Linked DNA regions of Homo sapiens: regions 2 and 3 are each linked to region 1. The links are contacts of gene promoters, found by promoter capture Hi-C in human tissues and cell types (Jung and others, 2019). All regions are on one chromosome and are shown on one strand. The core of a region is centred on a gene start or on the middle of the fragment in contact, and the rest is flanking DNA. Distances in the headings are between cores, read along the strand shown. Region 1 holds the start of HCN4 (hyperpolarization activated cyclic nucleotide gated potassium channel 4). Region 2 overlaps HCN4 (hyperpolarization activated cyclic nucleotide gated potassium channel 4). Region 3 overlaps LOC124903571 (serine-aspartate repeat-containing protein I-like).

Region 1 (2,966 bases), core at 444-2,943:
GAAAGGGTTCCCAGAGGAGGAGATGTCTCTACCATAGGTCATGGGGAAGCCTATATGGGCTGACTTCCTGAGCGGGGTTAAGGCAGACTAACTCCCAGCTAGACAAAGAAGCTCAAAGAAGTGTGTTAAATGGAGGTCTTCCCTCCTGTGGCTGGTAGACCAGGGCAGGCTGGGCTCACAGCTCTTTAAGAACACTTCTTCTCAAGGAGACCCAAGGACACTCAGGGATTAGGCTTCCAGCATCTGTGCAGAGAACTGTCAGCTCAGAGCTGCTCAAAAGTAAAAATGCCAGCTACCAGTGATGTCATCACCCTAGTCATTCCTCTCACTGTGGGAGGTCCTGTGGTCCAGTGGGTAGAGCAGAAGAGCCCCTGCTAGGCTGCCCGCCCCGCATCCTGCTCTCCAAATTCCTACTCTGGATGGAGGAGGCGAAAGTGGTCACATTGGGCTAAGAATGAGAGTAAAAAAATCATTTGAAGAAAAACTTGATGTTATTCCTCAGAGAGATGGCAGAGCCAGGGGACCTTTTTGCCTCCCTCCTGTGAGACTTTGCTGTGTGTCCGCTCCAGCATTAACCTCGGCTCCAGCCTTCTCTGGACAACTCCCCTCCCCTTAATGCCCAATCTGTCCCCCTATCCATTTCTGAGCTAATCTGGGGTATCAGGCTGTCCATGGTGTTGGAGGGGGTAGGGCTATACCTTAGGCTGAGCTAGTGAAATCTGTCCATAAGCCCGGACACTGTACACTGGGAGAGACTGGGAGAGAGGACACACAGTTGGATCCTTGGCGGGGGTTGGGGGGAAGGGGGCTGGGCTGCAGACTGGAAGGGAGTGGGGGCTGTGCAGCTGCTTGGGGGTGCAGGTAGGGGACTGGGTGGAACAGGAACTCACCCAGCGTGGGTCCACATAGTAGGTGTCATAATGTGGATGGGAACACAGGGAGAAGGGGCTCCAAAGCCAGTTCCAGAGTGCTGGGGCGTCCGAGGAACCGGCCCAACCGCTCCCCGCTGCAGCCGGCTTGTCCCTTTCTCGGAACTACCGAGGGAGAGGCGCGTGCGGAGGTCGGCGTTCGGATCTCGCATCCGTCACTGTTGCCGGCGCATTTCCTCGAAGTCTTACCTCGAAGGGCTGGGTCCCACCCGCGCGCCCTGTGCGTGTCTCCCTGTTTCCCCACGCCCTCCTTGCCTGGCTGCTGCGAGGCTTTGCAGGGGAAAGACTGGCGCGGGGTTCGCACCCTGCCCATGTCACAGGAAAACCGTGGGAGCCTCCCCGACGCGGCGCATTTCCGGAAGCCCCCTCTCCAGGAGGGTTGCGGGAAGGCCGGGACTCTGCATCCAGACGAACCCGGTCGCCTCCCAAGAGGAAAGTCGGAGACCCAGCTGAGGGGCAAAAATGCCAGGGAAAGGCGAGCCCAGAGCTTGGTGATGGAGAAATTGGGAAGCCACCCCCCACCCTTCAATCTTAGGATGGGGAATTCGCAACTGAAGCCGGAGCTTCAGACTTGGGGCGCACTCCCAGCTTAGCCCAGGAAAGAGATTTAAGGGCGCAGCAGTGTGGATACCTCTCACCCCGGCCCCGAAGGTCTAGCGAGGGTCTAACCTGGGCCCCTTGCCAGGCCCGCCCCCCGCCCCTTTCCAGCCCCCGGCCCGTGCGCCGCTGCCCCTTTAAGAAGCCCAGGTAGGCAGGCCCGGCTGCTGGAGCCGCTCCTATGGCAACCCGCGAGCTGCGGCGGCTTCATGAATATTCCGGGGCGCGGGAGCCCGAGCGCTGCCGGAGGGCGCTTCGGGGGAGGCGGCCGCTGATGTAAGCCCGGCGGGTCGCTGGGCTCCGCTCGGTTGCGGCGGGAGCCCCGGGACGGGCCGGACGGGCCGGGGCAGAGGAGGCGAGGCGAGCTCGCGGGTGGCCAGCCACAAAGCCCGGGCGGCGAGACAGACGGACAGCCAGCCCTCCCGCGGGACGCACGCCCGGGACCCGCGCGGGCCGTGCGCTCTGCACTCCGGAGCGGTTCCCTGAGCGCCGCGGCCGCAGAGCCTCTCCGGCCGGCGCCCATTGTTCCCCGCGGGGGCGGGGCGCCTGGAGCCGGGCGGCGCGCCGCGCCCCTGAACGCCAGAGGGAGGGAGGGAGGCAAGAAGGGAGCGCGGGGTCCCCGCGCCCAGCCGGGCCCGGGAGGAGGTGTAGCGCGGCGAGCCCGGGGACTCGGAGCGGGACTAGGATCCTCCCCGCGGCGCGCAGCCTGCCCAAGCATGGGCGCCTGAGGCTGCCCCCACGCCGGCGGCAAAGGACGCGTCCCCACGGGCGGACTGACCGGCGGGCGGACCTGGAGCCCGTCCGCGGCGCCGCGCTCCTGCCCCCGGCCCGGTCCGACCCCGGCCCCTGGCGCCATGGACAAGCTGCCGCCGTCCATGCGCAAGCGGCTCTACAGCCTCCCGCAGCAGGTGGGGGCCAAGGCGTGGATCATGGACGAGGAAGAGGACGCCGAGGAGGAGGGGGCCGGGGGCCGCCAAGACCCCAGCCGCAGGAGCATCCGGCTGCGGCCACTGCCCTCGCCCTCCCCCTCGGCGGCCGCGGGTGGCACGGAGTCCCGGAGCTCGGCCCTCGGGGCAGCGGACAGCGAAGGGCCGGCCCGCGGCGCGGGCAAGTCCAGCACGAACGGCGACTGCAGGCGCTTCCGCGGGAGCCTGGCCTCGCTGGGCAGCCGGGGCGGCGGCAGCGGCGGCACGGGGAGCGGCAGCAGTCACGGACACCTGCATGACTCCGCGGAGGAGCGGCGGCTCATCGCCGAGGGCGACGCGTCCCCCGGCGAGGACAGGACGCCCCCAGGCCTGGCGGCCGAGCCCGAGCGCCCCGGCGCCTCGGCGCAGCCCGCAGCCTCGCCGCCGCCGCCCCAGCAGCCACCGCAGCCGGCCTCCGCCTCCTGCGAGCAGCCCTCGGTGGACACCGCTATCAAAGTGGAGGGAGGCGCGGCTG
Region 2 (2,722 bases), core at 71-2,570, 39 kb after region 1:
GTACTTCAGCCTGGGTGACAGAGCAAGATCCTGTCTCAAAAGGAATAAATAAATAAAAATAAAAAACAAAAAGCTGAGCCCAAGAAAACAGACGCCTTCAAGGGTACTATTTGCAGCCCACGCAGACTCCCAGGTCATATGTGGTCACTTTCTACTCCAACAGCAGAGCTGGGCTGCCCCCACTCGCCAACATATCCTGATCCGAGGTGGAGTCCCGATAGGGAGGGCAGGCAGGATGAAGCCTGACCCCACCCTATCCCTCCAACCTTGCAAGTGGGTCAGGGTGGGTGAGAGAAGTTGAACTTGGGGCCTCGGAAGCCATAGGGCAGAGTTTCCAGTCCCCCTGTGGATGAGGTGGGTTCCAGGCAGGACAGAAGACACCCTGGATCTGTGAGCCTTTCTGTGTCTCTGGTGAACCCCTGCCTCTCCCAGGCTTCCTCCCAGTCAGTTTGGTTTGTTCTGAAGGCAAATTCCCAGGGCCCCAGGGGAGGAAAAATTGGCTTTGAAAGAGGTGAAAGAGACCCTGAGGCATCTTTCAGCATCAAACAGGCCTTTACAAAACAGCCTTTTGATGAGCTAAGTGTAAATGAATCAGCCATATGGATTGAATTCCCTGTTCCCAGAGGCTCAGCAGTAAAGGCCGCTGGGGGCCTACCCCTGTTCCCCAAGGCTGGGAACCCAGGTCTCTTCCACCCCTGGGGATGAGCCCTCCTGGTCCCCACTCCAGTCTAGACTGAGCCATCAGACCCAAGGAGCCAGCTCAGCTCTGTTCAGGGCAGTCTGGCTGACCTTGAATATGGCTCGAAGCTCACGGGCTCCTGCGCCTTCCCCTGGGGGCTGGGCCTCTGGCAGGTGCTCTGTGGGCCTGGGTAGGTTTCTGCACTGTGGCTCATGCATCTGCCCTGTGAGCAGAAAGACACCAGGGAGGTGGCCAGTGCTGGCATTCGTCAGGTTCAATGGGCCCTCATCTGGGGCAGTGTCCTCTCTATGTGAGGGTGGCAGGCCCACACATGCACTAAATTCAAGAGATGGCCCTTCCGATCCCAGTGTTCCCACGCTGAGCCTTCCTTGAGACACCGACTGGCTTTGTAGACAAAAATAGCCAAGAGCTTCCCTCCTCCTGTCCCCACGCCTTGTGTGTTCCGGAGAGTCTGCCTTGGGGGTAGTGGGAGGAGAACTGGTGGCCGCAGCCCTAGCAGAGGCGGGCAGGGTTCATGCAGGAGGCCCGTTAGCTCACAGCTTTAACTTTTGCTCATCCAAAATGAGGACAGTGTTTTTCGGCTCAGTCCGCCAGAGCTTGTCCCCCCAAGGGAAGCATATCTGGTTTTATAATTGAGGTCAGTGGGGAAATGGGCTTCACTTGGCAGCTGTTTAGGGGGTTGGGGGGTGGAGCTGTTTTAGCAAGGGAAGGACAGCACGGTGGCTCAGCCCGGGGCCTTTGCTACCCAGCCAGGAGGCTCCAAGCTGCCCCATGGGGGCTGGGCCACGCTGGCTCCCGTACCTTTACTGGGGCTTCCAGTCTGATCTCTGCCCCCATTGCAAGAGGAAGGCACAAGAGGAGGACTCGCTGGCAGCACAGGCTGCTTCTCACCCAAGGCTTTCAGCCAACAGCAAGGTTAGGGAGCCCTGGGCCCAGCCACTGAGAAAGTTAGGTTGAGGTGAGGAGGTGGCAGGGCCTTTTCTTGCTAGTGAGAAGGGCCTTCCCTCTCATCCACTGTCCCCACCCATCCGTCTGTCCACAGAACAACTCCTGGGGGAAGCAGTACTCCTACGCGCTCTTCAAGGCCATGAGCCACATGCTGTGCATCGGCTACGGGCGGCAGGCGCCCGTGGGCATGTCCGACGTCTGGCTCACCATGCTCAGCATGATCGTGGGTGCCACCTGCTACGCCATGTTCATTGGCCACGCCACTGCCCTCATCCAGTCCCTGGACTCCTCCCGGCGCCAGTACCAGGAAAAGGTAGGTCTACCCAGGGAGCACCCGCACATTGGTCCCTCCCAAGAGGGAGCACAGGCCACCAGCCAGTGGGCCCCCAGCAGGAACCGCCCCCTGCTCCCACCCCACAGGATCGGAACTCCCAGTGTGAGGGAAGAGCAGGAGGAGGGAGACACCTCTGAGATGAGAATCTGAGTTTCAGCTCCCTGGCCTGGCCCCTCCACATGTCTTTTTTTCTGTTCCCACCTTCCCCGTCTCCAGTGTCACTGGGGCCTGTGGCTCCTGGCTGAGGCCCTGTGCCCTCCGTGCTGCTCCAGTAGGCATTTGACAGTCACCACGCCCTTCCTGGCTGCTCACTCGTTCTCCAGGACCGCACTCTCGCGGTGTTGCTCCTGCCCCTCTGGCCAGTCCCCTGCCCCCATTTGCTGGCTTCTCTTCCCAGTCACTGCCACTGGAGTCCCCAGTGGCCCGGGCCTCGCCCCTGACCCTCCCTCTGTCTGGGGCCCCGGTGCTGTGGTTTCACCACCCAGGCCCACAGGCTCTGTGCCCATCTTTGCACAGTGGGGCCTGCACAGCATCAGCAGCCCCACCTCATCTCTCAGCTCCAGGTGGTTTATTTCATCCCTCTCTGGACACCCCACGCCCCTCATGTCTGTAATGAGAAGGCTGCCCTGTTCTCTCTACTCCAAGTCTCTGCTCTTCCCAGATGCCCAGGCCAGAGACTAGGAGCCATCCCTGGCCTCTCTCTGTCATCAATGCCTACCTCAAAGCCACAGCTCCTTCTC
Region 3 (2,700 bases), core at 189-2,688, 56 kb before region 1:
ACTACCTCTACGTGTTCATAACCAATTTTGGAGGTAATTCTTGTATTACTCATTTTTGTAGATTGAACATTGAAGCTTGGCCAGGTGGAGTAGACACAGCTGTAAATGATTGAGCTCATTTTGACATTGGTTTGTCTTGACTTCAATGTCGTATCTCTTCATTAAATGCAACAGAAGACTAGGGAGGCTTTTGCTGGATTTTATTTTTATTCTCTTTAGCCCATGCTTCCACTGGTGTTTGACAATGATAATCCTAGTCTCCCTTGAGACTGTGTGTCTGGTGATGGGGATCCCTCTGTCCTGGCAGTGTTGGACTGGGTGTGAGTGAGAATCCCTTGGCTAGTGGGTGTCCAGCACTGGTGGCTGAAGGTAAACTGGACAGTTTTATGTCATACTCTGAGCTAATGGTGACTGCTAAGTAATAATGACTGTGATTGTGGCTGAGGTCACCAACGCAGTGGAATGGCCAGTGACATCCTCTCCCCCATTGTTTGGGTGCCCACTCAGATTGATTGATAACTGTGCCATACTGCTCATTAAATATTTTTAATGTCACCCTTAATTGTAATGTCAGGTTAAAGCTGATTTCAGAATGCTAGCCTCGTTCTATAGAGTCTATGTAAAAGGCTGGTAAAGGTGGTTTGTTACTTTTTCTGCATAAAGAACATTATTATTATGGTATTTATATTATATTTGTAATATAATAGTCTATTATAGTACATATATAAATATATTATGTATAGTATACTATAGTATGTATTATAGAAACTTATGATATATATTATGTACAAAATATATAATATATATCATATATTATAATAAATATATATTTATATAACAAACTTATAACTTACATATTGTATGTTTATATTATATAAACTTATGTAATACATGCTATAGTATACTATATATAATATTCTATAAAAGAGCATTTTTACACTTGTGGTTTTTGAACTTCCCAGAGAAATACAAATTTATTCTAAAATTTTGGAATAGGCTTAAATACATGTATTTGTTAGCTGTCCAGCCAGCATTCATTCTCTTCTCTCCCCTTCCTAACAATGCCCAGACATTTTTTCAGGTATCTTCTGCACCTTGTAGCCTATCTGCTTAAGCTAAGATCGATCAGGATAATATGATCGGAGGTGGAAATGTGATGCAATATGGCCAAAGAGACTTAAGCATCAGTTATCTGTGGCTTATGAGAAAGAAATTTCCTCTTCTTTTGAAAGCCGCCAAGAGAGGGGTCCTTTCCCTGGGACAGCATGGTGTGTGGGTGCACAGCCTGGGACTGCTACAGCTATTCTGGTACCATGAAGGGAGTCAGCCTTGGGGTAAAGCTGGAGCCAGAGATGGCAGGGCAGAAAGAGGGAAGGAAATGGGTTCCTGATGACATCACTAGAACATCTGAACCAAATCAGCCCTGAAGCTTACCCCACCTCTGGCCTTTTCAGTTACATAAGCCAATAAATCCCCTTCATTTTTTAAGTCATTTCAAATTGGATTTTCCATTTCTTGCAACTGAAAGCATCCTAAGTGATACATTACTGAAATAGATTTTTTTAGAAAGGAAGATAAAATGAAATTAATCACCCATAATTCTGCCAGGCAGTTTTATTAGTATTTTAAAATATTTTCTTAAACCTTTTCCCTCCACTGTAGTTATATATACATATATATGTATATATATAATATATTATATATAAAATATATAATTACTATTATATGTAATTGTTCACAGATGAGATAAGATGGATAAGATGGTCTATACAATTTTGTGTCCCCCTTCTCTCTAGCATTCTACCATAAGCATTTCTCCTCACCATTAAGAACTCTTTGTTTCTCTTTTTTCCTGTGCGGTAAAAAAACACATAACACTAAATTCACCATCTTAGCCATTATTGAGTATCCACTTCAGTAGTGTTAAGTATATTCACATTCCTGTGGAACAGATCTCCAGAACTTTTCCATCTTGCAGAACGGAATCTCTGCAAGTATTAAACAACTTCTCTTTATCTCTCTCCCCCAAGCTCCCGGTTCTAAGCATCATTTTAATGGCTGCATTATGTAACATCATTTGGCTTTATCAAAAATCATTTCTCCTTTTATTGGGTGTTTAAAGTCATATAATTTTTTTTATTTTTTCATGCACATTTGCTGAGCATTCCATGGGTATCACTTAGCCAGGGATAAATTTTACATTAATTTCTTACCTTGGGTTTCTGGACCATCAAGGAGTATAAATTCAAATAGCAAGCCTATGTCAAGTAAAGATCTATGGTTGCAGATTCTCAAAGGGGACACACACATACACATACAAACACACACACACACACACACACATTTGCCCAAGCAAAAAAAAAAAAGATAAGCTTTCTTGATATCTCCTTTTGTGTGAGGTGGTTAAGGTGGACAATTTTTTTTCTAGCCTACGATAGTATATACAGTTAAGGACACACACATACCCCACCAGCATTCATCATTACCATACACACTAATAGTATCCCATTGTAAACCTGTGATTCTCTACCTGTGGGCTTTTACATGGTCCATGCCATGGGTTGAACCAGAAGTACTGGGGAGTGCAAATCCTGGGGAGTGATTCTTAGTCAGTGATGAATGGGAGGAGGAGGTGTCCATGGTGAAAATCTGCTCATTAGTAGAGCCTCTCTTGACTTCCTTCTTCTACTTTTCTCTCTT

Evidence for each region. Contacts are between HindIII fragments. The study calls those that stand out against the background at their distance.
Region 2: a contact is called between a fragment that was not itself captured here and the fragment with the promoter of HCN4 in region 1, in 1 of the 25 tissues and cell types used here (spleen).
Region 3: a contact is called between a fragment that was not itself captured here and the fragment with the promoter of HCN4 in region 1, in 5 of the 25 tissues and cell types used here (bladder, mesenchymal stem cells, mesendoderm cells and 2 more).

What each region holds. Positions count from the first base shown.
Region 1 is chr15:73,367,685-73,370,650 of GRCh38, reverse strand. HCN4 (hyperpolarization activated cyclic nucleotide gated potassium channel 4) reads left to right here and starts at 1,693. Exons shown (of 8, transcript NM_005477.3): 1 at 1,693-2,966. The coding sequence starts at 2,381. The HindIII fragment of the contact is 7,967 bases long and covers 1-2,966 here.
Region 2 is chr15:73,328,812-73,331,533 of GRCh38, reverse strand. HCN4 (hyperpolarization activated cyclic nucleotide gated potassium channel 4) reads left to right here. Exons shown (of 8, transcript NM_005477.3): 4 at 1,743-1,961. Among named protein-coding and RNA genes, the nearest start is that of MIR12135, 30 kb to the right of the region's middle. RefSeq lists an enhancer at 739-1,642. The HindIII fragment of the contact is 9,003 bases long and covers 1-2,722 here.
Region 3 is chr15:73,423,417-73,426,116 of GRCh38, reverse strand. All of the region lies in intron 2 of LOC124903571 (serine-aspartate repeat-containing protein I-like), which reads right to left. Among named protein-coding and RNA genes, the nearest start is that of REC114, 18 kb to the left of the region's middle. The HindIII fragment of the contact is 4,140 bases long and covers 1-2,700 here.